Regions from separate parts of the Homo sapiens genome. Here region 1 is linked to region 2. The links are contacts of gene promoters, found by promoter capture Hi-C in blood cells and fetal thymus (Javierre and others, 2016). All regions are on one chromosome and are shown on one strand. The core of a region is centred on a gene start or on the middle of the fragment in contact, and the rest is flanking DNA. Distances in the headings are between cores, read along the strand shown.

Region 1 (6,327 bases), core at 3,244-5,743, 580 kb after region 2:
CCACTAATCCCCAAATTAAGGACCTACTTGAAAAAGGGTCTTGACTGGTGATCTACATGAAAATCCAATGCTTCTTTCCTATAAAATAATCAAAAAGGCAATAGTTAAGAATTATAAAATTAAACACTTATTATTTTAGCTTACATTAATAAAATTAAGATAAAATCCTCTCAATTTATACTAATTTATATTTTAATTAATAATTTTTCACCAAATATTCTGTCAAAGCCACTCTTTTAAAATATTTTTTAAGTATGAGTAATATCAATGTAAATAAAAATTAATGTAGGAGGCAATGTTTACTTTTCTACTTATGTTATATATTGTCTATCTTCTTCTTTTTTTTTTTTTTTTTTTTTTTAGATTGAGTTACCCAGGCCAGAGTGCAGTGGCACGATCTTGGCGCTCGCTACAACCTCCACCTCCTGGGTTCAAGCAGTTCTCCTGTTTTAGCCTCCCAAGTCGCTGGAATTACAGGCGTGTGCCACAATGCCCAGCTAATTTTTGTACTTTTACTAGAGATGGGGTTTCACCATGCTGGCCAGGCTGGTCTCAAACTCCTGACCTCAGGTGATCCACCCACCTCGGCCTCTCAAAGTGCTGGGATTACAGGCATGAGCCACCGCACCTGGCCTTATCCATCTTTTTACACAGCATCCTGAACGTTCTAGAAACAAAGGTTAATATTTGACCAGTGAGAATATTTGTTCTTTAAAGTCTAAATAAGTTGCATCAAAAAAATGCAAAGCCATCTTCTAATTAAAAATTTGTCATTTTTTTCCACAGGCTTTAAACTTAAGAGCTTAGGCTAGAATTTTAATTTAATGTTTATAGCTTTTTTTCTTAGCTAGGTCTCTCCAAAGGAAAGACTACAGTCGTGTTTTTAAAAGCTGCCTGAGAAATTATGTATCTTAATATGTTTTTATTTTATTGGTTACTAATGCTTTAACTGACATCACTAAAAAAGGGGAGAATATGGAAACATTTAGAATTCAGAGTTTATTAATTGTAACAGGGATTTATTTTTACATTTATATTACCACTAAAGAATATCTACAGCGGCAATAAAAGAATGCATTTTAAACTGATTAGCTAAAAAGTCTAAAAAACTTTTTTTAAAAGCAAACCAGATGACTCTCCTAACACTGTGTAGTTTTCTTAAAGGCTTTGAACTGGGTTCACAGTATGTGACAAATATATGTAAACATTAACTACTTTTAAAACTGGAAACTGTTCCCTAGCAAAGAATCAACCTTTCAGGCTTGAGAATTCATTTGATATGCAATGCTTTTAAGATTTTATCAGGATATTACAAAATGAATTTACATAACAAGTTATATCACGCATACTCTCATTCTAACCAAATGTACTTAAACATTCATTTGGCTATGAAGAGATTATGAAATATGTAATGCCAATATAGAGAATAAAATTCATCCCGAGACATGGAAAGGAGAAAAAAATCAAAATTTTCTAGAGCCAATTATAGCCATGATTAAATTATTATATTTATTCCTTACAACAATATATTGAAATAGGTGTGATCACCTTTATTTTACATCGGAAAAGAATAAAGTTCAGCATGGTTACATAAGTTGTCCAGTTCACAAAGCTAGTAAGGACAAGACAAGAAGATTTGAACCCAAAGCTCTCTGATTGCAAATTTCTGACTGCTTATGCTCTTGCTACTACTAACTGTAGAACAACATTCTAGAGGGTAAAGAGAAAAACTCACAAAAAAAGAGATACGTATATACTGCATTACAGCCTAAAATGGGGTAAAACTGAATAACTGAAAAACTTACATGGAGAGTAAATTAGAAGAGTTAGCAGAAGAATACTAAAACAACCAATTCTAAGCTTTTCAAACGCAAAAAACTGAACTACAAGAAAGGAAAAAGCAATCATAATCTTTAACGTCATTGAAAAGAAAAACCTCAATCCATTACTAAAAATGTTTCATTGTTTTCATCCAACATGTCCCTGATTCCATAGTTATCTCCATTCAAAATCTAAAATTGAAACCACGATGAGAGTTCATAAATTTTTTCCCATCATTCTTATCTAATTCTTTGCTTTAAAGGTTTAGAAGGAAATAGGTATTAACAAGTGAATCACTATCTAGAGAAGTTTTTTGTTGTTTTGTTATGTTTTGTTGTGTTTTTATGAAGAAACTAACCATTCTTTCACAAAGATCTATCCATTAACCCTTTCAAGAAATATTTACTTAATGCCAACCTTGATTGAGGCACTGATCCAAGAACTAGAAATACAAAGTCATACAGAACTCAGCAGCTATCTTCTGGATATTGTCATCATGGCGGAACCGACATTTGAACAAACAATTTTAGAAAAGATGCATACATTGTGAGAAATTCCTCCAGGTGAGTTTCTCTCTTCTAACTTGTCTTATCGGGTATGCCAAGAATGCAAGGACCTGACTGATCTTCATCGGTGTCGTTTCTCAGGATTGTGTTTGCAACAAGAAACCTTGAGGGATAAGGTAAAGCCTCTCTTCAGTATAAAGAGTAGGCTTGTTTATTGCTTGCTAATGGAACAGCTGGTAACCCAAGCTCACTCCTCCTCAGTTGTGATGCCACCCTCTAGATACACAGTATACACCTGGGCATTGGTCATTTTATTCCTGTAGGATATGGAGGCAAGGAGAACCAATATAAACACAATGCTCATGCTGCTTGCTCTACCATTATAAAGTCTTTTGTCTCTGACCCAGAAGTCTCATGTCATCTGCTAACATCCATGGAAGAGTTACAGGTAACTTCCTAGCTTATAAATTGGATGAAATCTCAAGCTCAACATACTAATAAAAATATATGAAGTGATATGAATGATTAGATAAGCAGTTAAGTTTTCTTGGGAATTAGTTTCCATGAGACATTTGAGTTGGTTCTGAACGATGAATAGGAATGGATGAGACAGAAGACAAGGCAGAGCATTCAAGACAGTACAATATTATGTACAAGAAAACTGAGATGTGATAAAGCACAACATGTTCAGGGAACTGAAACCTAAGTATCCTCTTAGAGCTATTACAGTAGGTGAGTACAGATGACTAAGAGTCTTGTATACTCTATCAAAGAGCTTGTCTGCTTGACCATATTTTCCTGCATATGGGAAACCACTGACGGATTTAAGGAAGGGAATGGTAACATGTTCAAATTTTCATTTTATGAGGTTCATTCTAATGGCAATAAGAAAATGGCATGGAGCAATCTTGAGGTAGGAAATGAGCCATCAAGGAATAGAAGGTAGTAAGTCAAGAAGTAGACAAATCAGTCAGTAGCCTATGTTGATACGTTGAAAGCCTGAATATGAGCCTATAAAATGCCTAAACTAAGGGGCTGCAATAGGAATTATAAGGAGAGAATTGCTCCCAGAGATATACAGAAAGCAGAAGTAAAAATATTTATATATCAGGTAGGTATGAGGAATGGGGGAGCAGCAAGATGAATCTAGGATCACTTTCAGATTGACAGTTGCAGAGAGAAGTCAAGGCTGAAGATGTATTTGGAATTCATCTATAAGTAAGTGGTAGGTGATCATATGGACATGCATGGGACTACTCAAGTAAAGTTGTAAAGAAAATAACATACAACAAGCTGGATGCAGTGGCTCATGCCTGTAATTCTAGCACTTTGGGAGTACAAGGCAGGAGACTCACTTGAGGCCAGTTCGAGACTAGCCTGGGCAACAAAGCGAGACCACGTTTTTTAAAAAAACAAAAAGCAAGGATCTGGAGGAATACCTAATTGAAATCATAGTGACCGTCACTGAGATGGGAAAGCAAATAGAGCAGAGCCCTGGATGATCACTGACAGAGATGTTGAAGTCATCCCAACTGTCAGGAGACACTGGAATAGAAGGAGACTATAAACAAAGTGCCCAAATCTTTAACAAATGTGGAGTTTGTGAACTGTAGAATGGAAATGAGGCTCAGTGGATGGTAAAACAACTAAATAACATGAATTTCCAAGGATGAAGAAGAGTATAGATTTTTAGGAGAGAGCTAAAATACGCTATATCGTGACCCTGTGACATAAGAAACATTTGTGAGTGAGCAGCCTACAGGGCTAAAAGGAAAGGAATGTCCCTGGAGAAGGGTCAGATTTCAACTAAACTAAAAATGTGCGGGCAAAGATACACTCTGTTAAGACACTATGGACATAGGGATATTTGTTCACAATGAAACTTGATTTCCAGAGGGGCCAGTGAAAATGGTTTGGTAAGAGATTTGTGTTCAGAAGACTATGGGAAAAGGAAGTGCATAACTACAAATGAACAGGTGTGTCAACAAGTAATTAGAAGGGCTTGCATCTGTGGTACTCCAAAGAATGAAGTATTTCAAAAGGCATGGGTGGAATTAACAAGACTTAAGGTTTCAAAGAAACTAGCAAATGTATGCCCTATGGTGCTCTTGAAGTGTTTGCTGGTTTTAGCATTTTTCTTCATGTGCTATAGGGCCATTATGATAAACAAGTAGCATCTTTACCACAGGAAGTTAGATACCAAGTCATCAGACACTAGAAGTATAGAGACACTAAACTCATGTAACCCTCACAACTACTTTATGAGATAGGTACTATTATAAATCCCATTTTAAGCCAGGCGCGGTGGCTCATGCCTGTAATCCCAGCAATTTGGGAGGCTGAGGCGGGTGAATCATTTGAGGTCAGGAGTTCAAGACTAGCTTGGCCAACATGGCGAAACTCCGTCTCTACTAAAAATACAAAAATTACCCGGGCGTGGTGGTGTGCTCCTGTAGTTCCAGCTACTTGGGAGGCCAAGGCAGGAGAATTGCTTGAACCTGGGAGGTGGAGGTTGCAGTGAGCCGAAATCGTGCCACTACACTCCAGCCTGGGCAACAGAGCAAGACTCCATCTCAAAAAAAAAAAAAAAAATCCCATTTTGCAAATGAAGAAATAAACACAGTGGTCAACTGTTCAGTCACACACCTAGTAAGTAGCACAGTTACAAGCAATCTGGTCTAAATACTGTGCTCTGAAATGTAAGCCTCCTGTCTCTCTAGAAAATATGTAAACTAGGAGATCATACATAAGGGAAAAATTCCAATTAAACATGTCATTGTCAGGGTAAAATGGAGGGTTTTGTGTTAAAGTTTCTCGGAATCAGATGTATTGAAGCTGACTTGAATGTCTACTGCTCCCCATTGTCCCTGCTCTCACAGAAACAAAAATGCAACTGACCCATGGAATAAATCCAGAAATGAATGATTTATTGAAGCATTAAGAAGATATCTGACCAAAAACAAACAAAAACTAGTGGAGAAACATAAGAACACTATTGGAGCCAGATCTGCCTAACTGCTACATTCCTGTCCCTAGAGACACTCTGTGTTACACTCAGCCAACCAGAGGGTGATCCCAGGAAACAAAGGCCTCTGTCCTATACTCATCTCCCTTCTTCATCTTCCAGAATGTTTCAGTCTTTGCTTTGTCCATTTGGTAGGAAATTTTTTAAAAACAAATGTCCAATATCATGGAAAAATCACTAGTTTTTTTTCTAAAGGATCTCTAAAAAAAACTGAAGAGAAGGTTTTCCCTATCCTTTGTTTGTACGTTGTTAATATTCTCCTTGCCATTCTTACGGGGTTAGAGTTACTTACTTCATGATAGAAAGGGATAAGTAAATGTATAAGTCTTATTTTCACTAAATAACTTAGAAAATATCTGGTCAAACAGGTTGTACTGCTTGTTAGATAGGTATATTTACCTATCTAGGTAAAAAATAAATAGGTATATTTGCCTATTATTTATAATAAGAAGAGCTAAATGTAAACATTTCCAAATGCATCATCTTTGGAAATCTCAACAGTAAATCCTCTTGTCAAATAAAAATAATCAGACATCATTTCCTCTATTAATTTTATACAGTGTGTTATCCTTATATATTAAGAAATGATTATAATTATCAAGCACTGGTGTTATAAAAGCAGATGGGGTTTTGAAAGACAATAATAATTAAATGAGGCATGCATAATTTGACAACTCCTAATTACTTAGACTTCAGTGGTTATTTATGCATCTGATTACTTGGTGTCTTATTGTTCTTTTCTTTCTTCTTTTTCTTTTTGTTGCCTGGTGTAATGCCTACATGACAGCTGAATTTCTACCCTGTCCTAACTTTGCTTATCTTTAAGAAACAGGACTTCTGCAATAAAAGGTTCCCTTTACAACCAGACCAGTTAAGACTGGTTAGAACCAAGATATGCAACCAAATGACATCAAAAAGACCTCGGGCTTCATTATAATCTCATTTTCATACTATATGGCACTCCCACCAGCACCA
Region 2 (6,316 bases), core at 1,445-3,944:
AATGAGGCGGGAGACTGGAGGGCTGAGCGTCTGGGCCAAGGTCACACCACAAGTCATTAGAACCAGGATCCAGACCCAGGCCTCCTGATTCAGAGCCTAGGGCTCTTCCTCTATGGCTTGGGGAACCATGGCTGAGTGCTGCTTGACTGTGGCACAAAAAACGGCTGTTAGAAAGGAGTCGCACCCATGCGATAGTGCTCCTGAGAGGTGAGGACTGGAGGGACAGTTGTAATTAGGTCATTGCCATGCTCCACATTAGGCAGTGGGCCTGGCTGTGAGGAGTCATGGAGACAACAATCAAGGTGAGCCTGGTCTCTGAATCAGCATCTGTCAGAAGGGGTTTTGAATAACTAAATCTGCTCACCAGAGGCCATGGGGGTGGATGAGAATGGCCCACAAAGGCTGTCCAAGCAGCCTCCACAGCCCCGGCACCCTCACCTGCTGCTGCCTGTGTGAGTCCTCTCCCCACCCCTTCTACAGTCCGGCTGAGCCCCTCCACAGTCCTGGTAACCAAGTAGGGATCATCCCTCTGGGGCTGGGCTTCTGCTGTGGTCTTGCAGGTCCCCACCCTCTCCAGGAGGAAGAACTGCCCTGAATCTGGTCCTGTGGCACTGGCTCTGCTGACAGAGTCAGCTGTCGGGTGGGAGCCCACTCTGGGTGGAGGCAGCAGCCTCTCAGGAGCCCGTCACTGTGGCAAAGTACAAACTCTTTGAAGCAAAGACTCTGTGGATCCAAACCCCAGCTTTCTAGCCGAGGAAATACTGGATCTCTAGACTGCAGTTTGTCTACCTATAAATGGGATATACCCTTGTTTTGAGCATTACACGAGATGATCCACATAAAGCACTTAGCATGGAGCCTGCTCAGGGTAAGCACTCAATAAATGGTAGCTGTTGTCATTACTTAAAGGCCCGCTCTCTTTCCTGGCTCCCCCACCCATCGGTGTTTCTTCCTCTTGGATTTCCCATCATCACCTCTCTACTGGTTGTGTCCCCCAGGGTTCTATGCTTTTTCTTTTTTCTATTTTCTTTTTTTTTTTTTTTTGAGGCAGAGTCTTGCTCTGCCACCCAGGAGGGAATACAGTGGTGCGAGCATGGCTCACTGCAGCCTCGACTCCCTGGGCTCAAGTGATCCTCCTACCTTAGCCTCCTGAGTAGCTGGGACCACAGGCTGCATGCAACTACACCGGGCTAATTTTTTTTTTTCTGTAGAGATAGGGTCTGGCTGTGTTCCCTAGGCTGGTCTCGAACTCTTGATCTCAAGTGATCCTCCCTCCCCAGCCTCCCAAAGTGTTTGGGATTACAGGCGTGAGCCACCACACCTGGCCAGATTTTGTGCTTGACCCCTCCAATCCCCACTACACTAAGTACTTGTTGCCACACATCTGGGTTGCTCTACAGATAGCACATGCAGCAGCCCTCCAGGTGGGCTTCCTCCTCCCTGGACTGCCTCCTCCGTTCTCTCCTCCAAGCCTCCTAGAGTGCTGGCTCCATCTAGGCTGTTGTAAATAATCAGCCTAGCAGTCAGTGCCTACTAGGATGAGCTCCTGACCAAGCACCTGGGCTGAGACCCAGCTGAGACAATCACACCCCACAAAAAAGTACAAGCTCGAAAAAATTCCATGCCACTGCTTAAGGCAGAATGCAGTCAGGGGAAGACAGCACCTCTCTCCAAAACCCTTTAGTAAACTATTTTCCAGCAATAAAACCCACTTTAAATTCAGGCAGAGAGAAGGACCTCAGTACTCATAATTGAGAGAGCACATTTAATCAAGGCAGTAGACAGCTATTTAATTCCACTTTCTTTTGCCTAAATGTCCTTGTCCCCTCTTTTCCATTCACTTGCTCTAAATCAATAGTTCTCAAACCCTCCGTGCTGAGAGATCAATTGTTTATTTTTCTTGTTCCCAAACTACTGTGGGCCAGTACTTTTGTAAAATGGTAAAAATAAATTTCTAAAAAAGAAAAATGCCATTCCGATGGCACAGAAAGTTTTAATTTCTATAAAGTTTATTACTTTCAGTTTCTGTACATATCTTTTGGTAGTCTGGTAAGCAAGCTTCTCGCCGACCTACACCAGCCCCTGGCCCAAACTGAGAGTAGGTAGAACAGCTTCTGGAAGGAACAGAGCCACAGAGGAGTCTGTCTCCCACAGACACTCCCCATCCCAGGTTTTTGTCCTGTCATGTAGTCCGCTCAGCAGCAGCCCTGCTCCACCCAGAGCATGCAGTGGTGAGGTTTGGGGTGGGATTTGCCCAGGCTTTGGTTACTGATATTCCTTGAGAGTCTAGCAGCCCCCAGGAGGAGGGATATGCAGAGATGTTCCCAGCCCCAGTGCAGTGCAGGGACTGGCCCTTACCATTCCATGCCAGCCCTGTTGATCTCCTCCCACCAGCACTCCGTGGGTTCCCCGAGGCTCTGTGGCGTGGGCATGCAGGCGTAGTTCCATTGTCTGTCAGAACCTTCCTTCTTGCTGAAGATGCTCCTCACGGCCACTATCACCTGCCCCTGGGGACACTGGTAGCTGAAGCCTTGCCGGTTCAAATTCACCCACCCATCATCGCTGTAGTCATGATACTGCTGGTATGGGTATCCATAATCGCCATACTGGCCCCAGGCCATGGTGACTAGGGGCAGAAGTACCCAGAGAAGACTGAGGTCCATGCTGCCTGGGATTTTGGCAAACAATGTCACTCTAAGATTGCTGGTCTGACCGTTTTATATAGCTGCCGCTGACATGTGGCTTCCAGATGTGGGTGAGAAGGATCCAACTGCAGTGTGTCATTGCTTAAGCAAAACTTTTCCATGCTGAGATGTCAGCCATAAGGACATTCAGCTTGTTTTAAGGTGGAATTCTAGGAATATACCAGCAGCATGTAAGTCTAAGAAGCTCCCTGGAGAAAGAACAACTTTGTATCTAGATTATAAAAGCCAACTGCTGCTCTACCCTGTAGAAATATTCACTTGAAAAACACTGATTAGTAGCATATTTGTCCCTCACCTTTCAGCACCTCACCCCTTTCTGTCCTACCCTACCCGCTACTAGCAAACCCCTGTATTTGTTCTCCAAACTAGCCTTCCGGGCCACACAAATACCCAGACAGTGATTTCAAAATACCGAAATCATAGACTGAAGTAACAGAGCCATCTAGGATTTCTGTAAGGCTGAATGCCTGTTTTTTTTTTTAAGTTGTCAATCCAACACTTTTTAACCCTTGAGTATAAGCGCGGGTATACCAGTTTGCAGGGCTACTCTGAGAACTCATAAGTTGCATAAGGAAGTACTATGGGCCCATGGGGAGATAAGTTGGATATGATTTCTACACTTAAGCATTCTACCATGCTGCTGAAATTGGACCCAGTCAAGTCTAGAAAGTGTGCTCTGCTCTCAAAATGTAATGGGTTTAATCTAAATAAACCCCCTATTTATCCTTCAGTATTTTTGCCCTCACATTGAATTTTCTTTTCATTGAGTTATAATTTACATATAATTAATTCACCTTTTAAAATACATAATGTACAGTAACATAGCCAGCACCCTAATCAAGACTTAGAACAGTTCCATCAATCCAAAACATCCCCTTATATCCCTTTGCAGTCAAATCTTCCCAAACACCCAGCCATTGGTAACCACTGATTTACTTTCTGTCTCTATGGTTTTGCCTTTTCCAGAATGTCAAGTAAATGGAATCATACCACACGTAGCCTTTCATGTCCATCTTTCACTTAGCATAATGCTTTTAAGGTTCATCCATTTTAAAATTCAACATCTCATTGTATGTGTTAGTATTTTGTTTCTTGTTATTGTTGAGTAATATTCCATAGCATGGATGTACCACAGATTGTTTATACATTTACTAGTTGAAAGACATTTGGGTTGTTTCCAGTTTTTGAAAATTCATTACTTTTTATGTAATGAATTTTATATTCATTATATTTTATATAATGAATTACATAAATGTAATTATAAAGTTGATATAAACATCTATGTATAGGTTTTTGTGTGAACAAATTTTTATTTCATTTGGGTCAATACCTAGGAGTGAGATTGCTGGTTCACAAGGTAATGTATGTTTAACTTTAAAAGAAACTACTGAGGCCGGGTGTGGTGGCTCATGCTTGTAATCCCAGCACTTTAGGAGGCCGAGGCGGGCGGATCACGAGGTCAGGAGATCGAGACCATCCTGGCTAACATGGTGAAACCCCGCCTCTACTAAAAATACAAAAAATTAGCCAGGCTTAGTGGCGGGCGCCTGTAGTCCCAGCTACTCGGGAGGCTGAGACAGGAGAATGGCGTGAACCCGAGAAGCGGAGCTTGCAGTGAGCCGAGATTGTGCCACTGCACTCCAGCCTGGGCTACAGAGCGAGACTCCGTCTCAAAAAAACAAAAAAAAGAAAGCAAGAAACTACCTAGCTGATTTCCAAAGTGGTGATACCATTGCCCACCACTACCAGAAAATTGCCATTAAAAAATTTTAGCTATTCAAATAGGTTTGTAGTGATATTTCAGTGTGGTTGTGATTTTCATTTCTCTAATGATCCATGATTTTGAGCATCTTTTCATGTGCTCATTACCCATTCCATGCATCCGTTGATGATTTGGCTTTTCAAATTTTTTGAAACCTTTGGGCATCTCTTAAGCACATAGTATTTCCCATTTCTCATCAGTATTGTTCTTAAAGTTTCTTAGAATTGTGATCATAGACCAATTCTATCTACAGCCTCTGTGAAGTTTGTTAAAATGTAGACAGTGGCTCTTCTCCAGGCCTGCTAAATCATAACCTCACAAGGGGTGCTCAGGTATTTATATTTTAAAAAATTTTCCAGGTGATTCTTATTCACATCAATTGCTAAGAGTCACCTTCCTAAAGGAATGTGGAGCCAGAGAAAAATCACACTATTAATCCCACCATCTGCCTAGCCTGTGGCACATTTACCAGACGGTATTCAGTCTAGATCAAACACCAAGATAGTCTTGAAAGGGAAAGACAGTCATACATGAGAATAAAGCAACAAGTAACTCGTGTGTGTGTGTGTGTGTGTGTGTGTTTGTGTGTGTGTTGGGCATGCAGTTTTCTTTGATGATCATGGTTACTGAAGCGAGGGGGAGAGGATCTGGGCTGAACAGCTATGTGAGGCTTAGTTTTGTTTTTAGCACCATCTTCTCCCACCACTTCCATCCGTAAGTAACTGCCCAGTGCTGGCATCGGAATTCTTCCTAGCTTAGAAGGATCTCTCTGATTCATGATATGCTGAAGCAATCATTCTCCACCTTATCAGCATTTAAGGATTACCTGGAAAGCTTTTGGAAACCTCCAGAGTCTAAGCAATTTCTGGACCAATCAGATCAGAAGCTTCTGAGCAGGGTCCTGACAATGACGTCCTTTGAAACCTTCCCTATAGGCTTCTCACCGGAAGCCAGGGTTGAGAACCTCTATGCTAGAGGGTTTTTTTTTTTTTTTAATTTTTTCAGTTTATCATCCTGATGCTCATGAGTTGTATCTTGCATTCTGGACATGATATGAGCTATTTTAAACCTTAAAGAGCTCTAAGAGACAAAGCAGATTATCATAAACACTCATCTTTATTATACATTTGTTTTCCAACAATTTCCAGGGCCTCTGCCTGATCTCCACTCTCCGCAGATTTCTTTCAACTACAGCTAGAACTACCTCAGCTGGATTCCCTTTAATGTGCAAAAATAAATATCTTCATGCTATGGTCCAGTTTTAATATAGATTTCTGTTACTTAAAGCTGAAAGCAACCTAACTCATCCAGTGTCTCAGGAGATTCCAGAAACTGCTGATGCCTTTGAGAGAGATTCTGGTGGCCGCATAGAGAATGATTTCCATACGCAGACATTGAGAACATAAGATTAATGCATTTACAGTTGACCATGTGTTTTCAACTAGGTTACTATGTTATCTTCCTCATAACTTTATATGTTAGTGAGGCATTATTGGAATTAGTTTCTCACAGATGGGGAAACTGTGGTGAGAGAACATTTTGGGCCAAATTTCTAGAACTGGAAGGATATGACCCCATGTCTTCTGATTCCCATTCTGCAATGCCTTCCATCATTTCATCAAAGTTACAGTTACTAATTATAACATTTATGAATAATTGTCAAATAATGCACTTATAAAGTATGTATATTAACATACACATATAACTAATTTGCGCTACGCATTTCTGCTGTTATTTGAAAAGTCTACTCAATAGACCCTGGGGACTTTAAAGAACTAAATGTTCAATAAGTAGTTTTTGGGGTGTTGCTCTAAAACCAACAGCATCAGCGTCACCTGGGAACTTGTTA

Evidence for each region. The method cuts DNA at HindIII sites, captures the fragments that hold promoters and counts their contacts. A CHiCAGO score of 5 or more calls a contact.
Region 1: a contact is called between a fragment that was not itself captured here and the fragment with the promoter of DPT in region 2, in 1 of 17 cell types (M2 macrophages). The highest score is 5.9, in M2 macrophages.

The regions. Positions count from the first base shown.
Region 1 is chr1:169,303,118-169,309,444 of GRCh38, forward strand. NME7 (NME/NM23 family member 7) reads right to left here. Exons shown (of 12, transcript NM_013330.5): 5 at 28-78. Among named protein-coding and RNA genes, the nearest start is that of NME7, 62 kb to the right of the region's middle. The HindIII fragment of the contact is 5,271 bases long and covers 1,859-6,327 here.
Region 2 is chr1:168,726,512-168,732,827 of GRCh38, forward strand. It overlaps DPT (dermatopontin), which reads right to left and starts at 2,695. Exons shown (of 4, transcript NM_001937.5): 1 at 2,359-2,695. The coding sequence starts at 2,663. The HindIII fragment of the contact is 3,243 bases long and covers 2,057-5,299 here.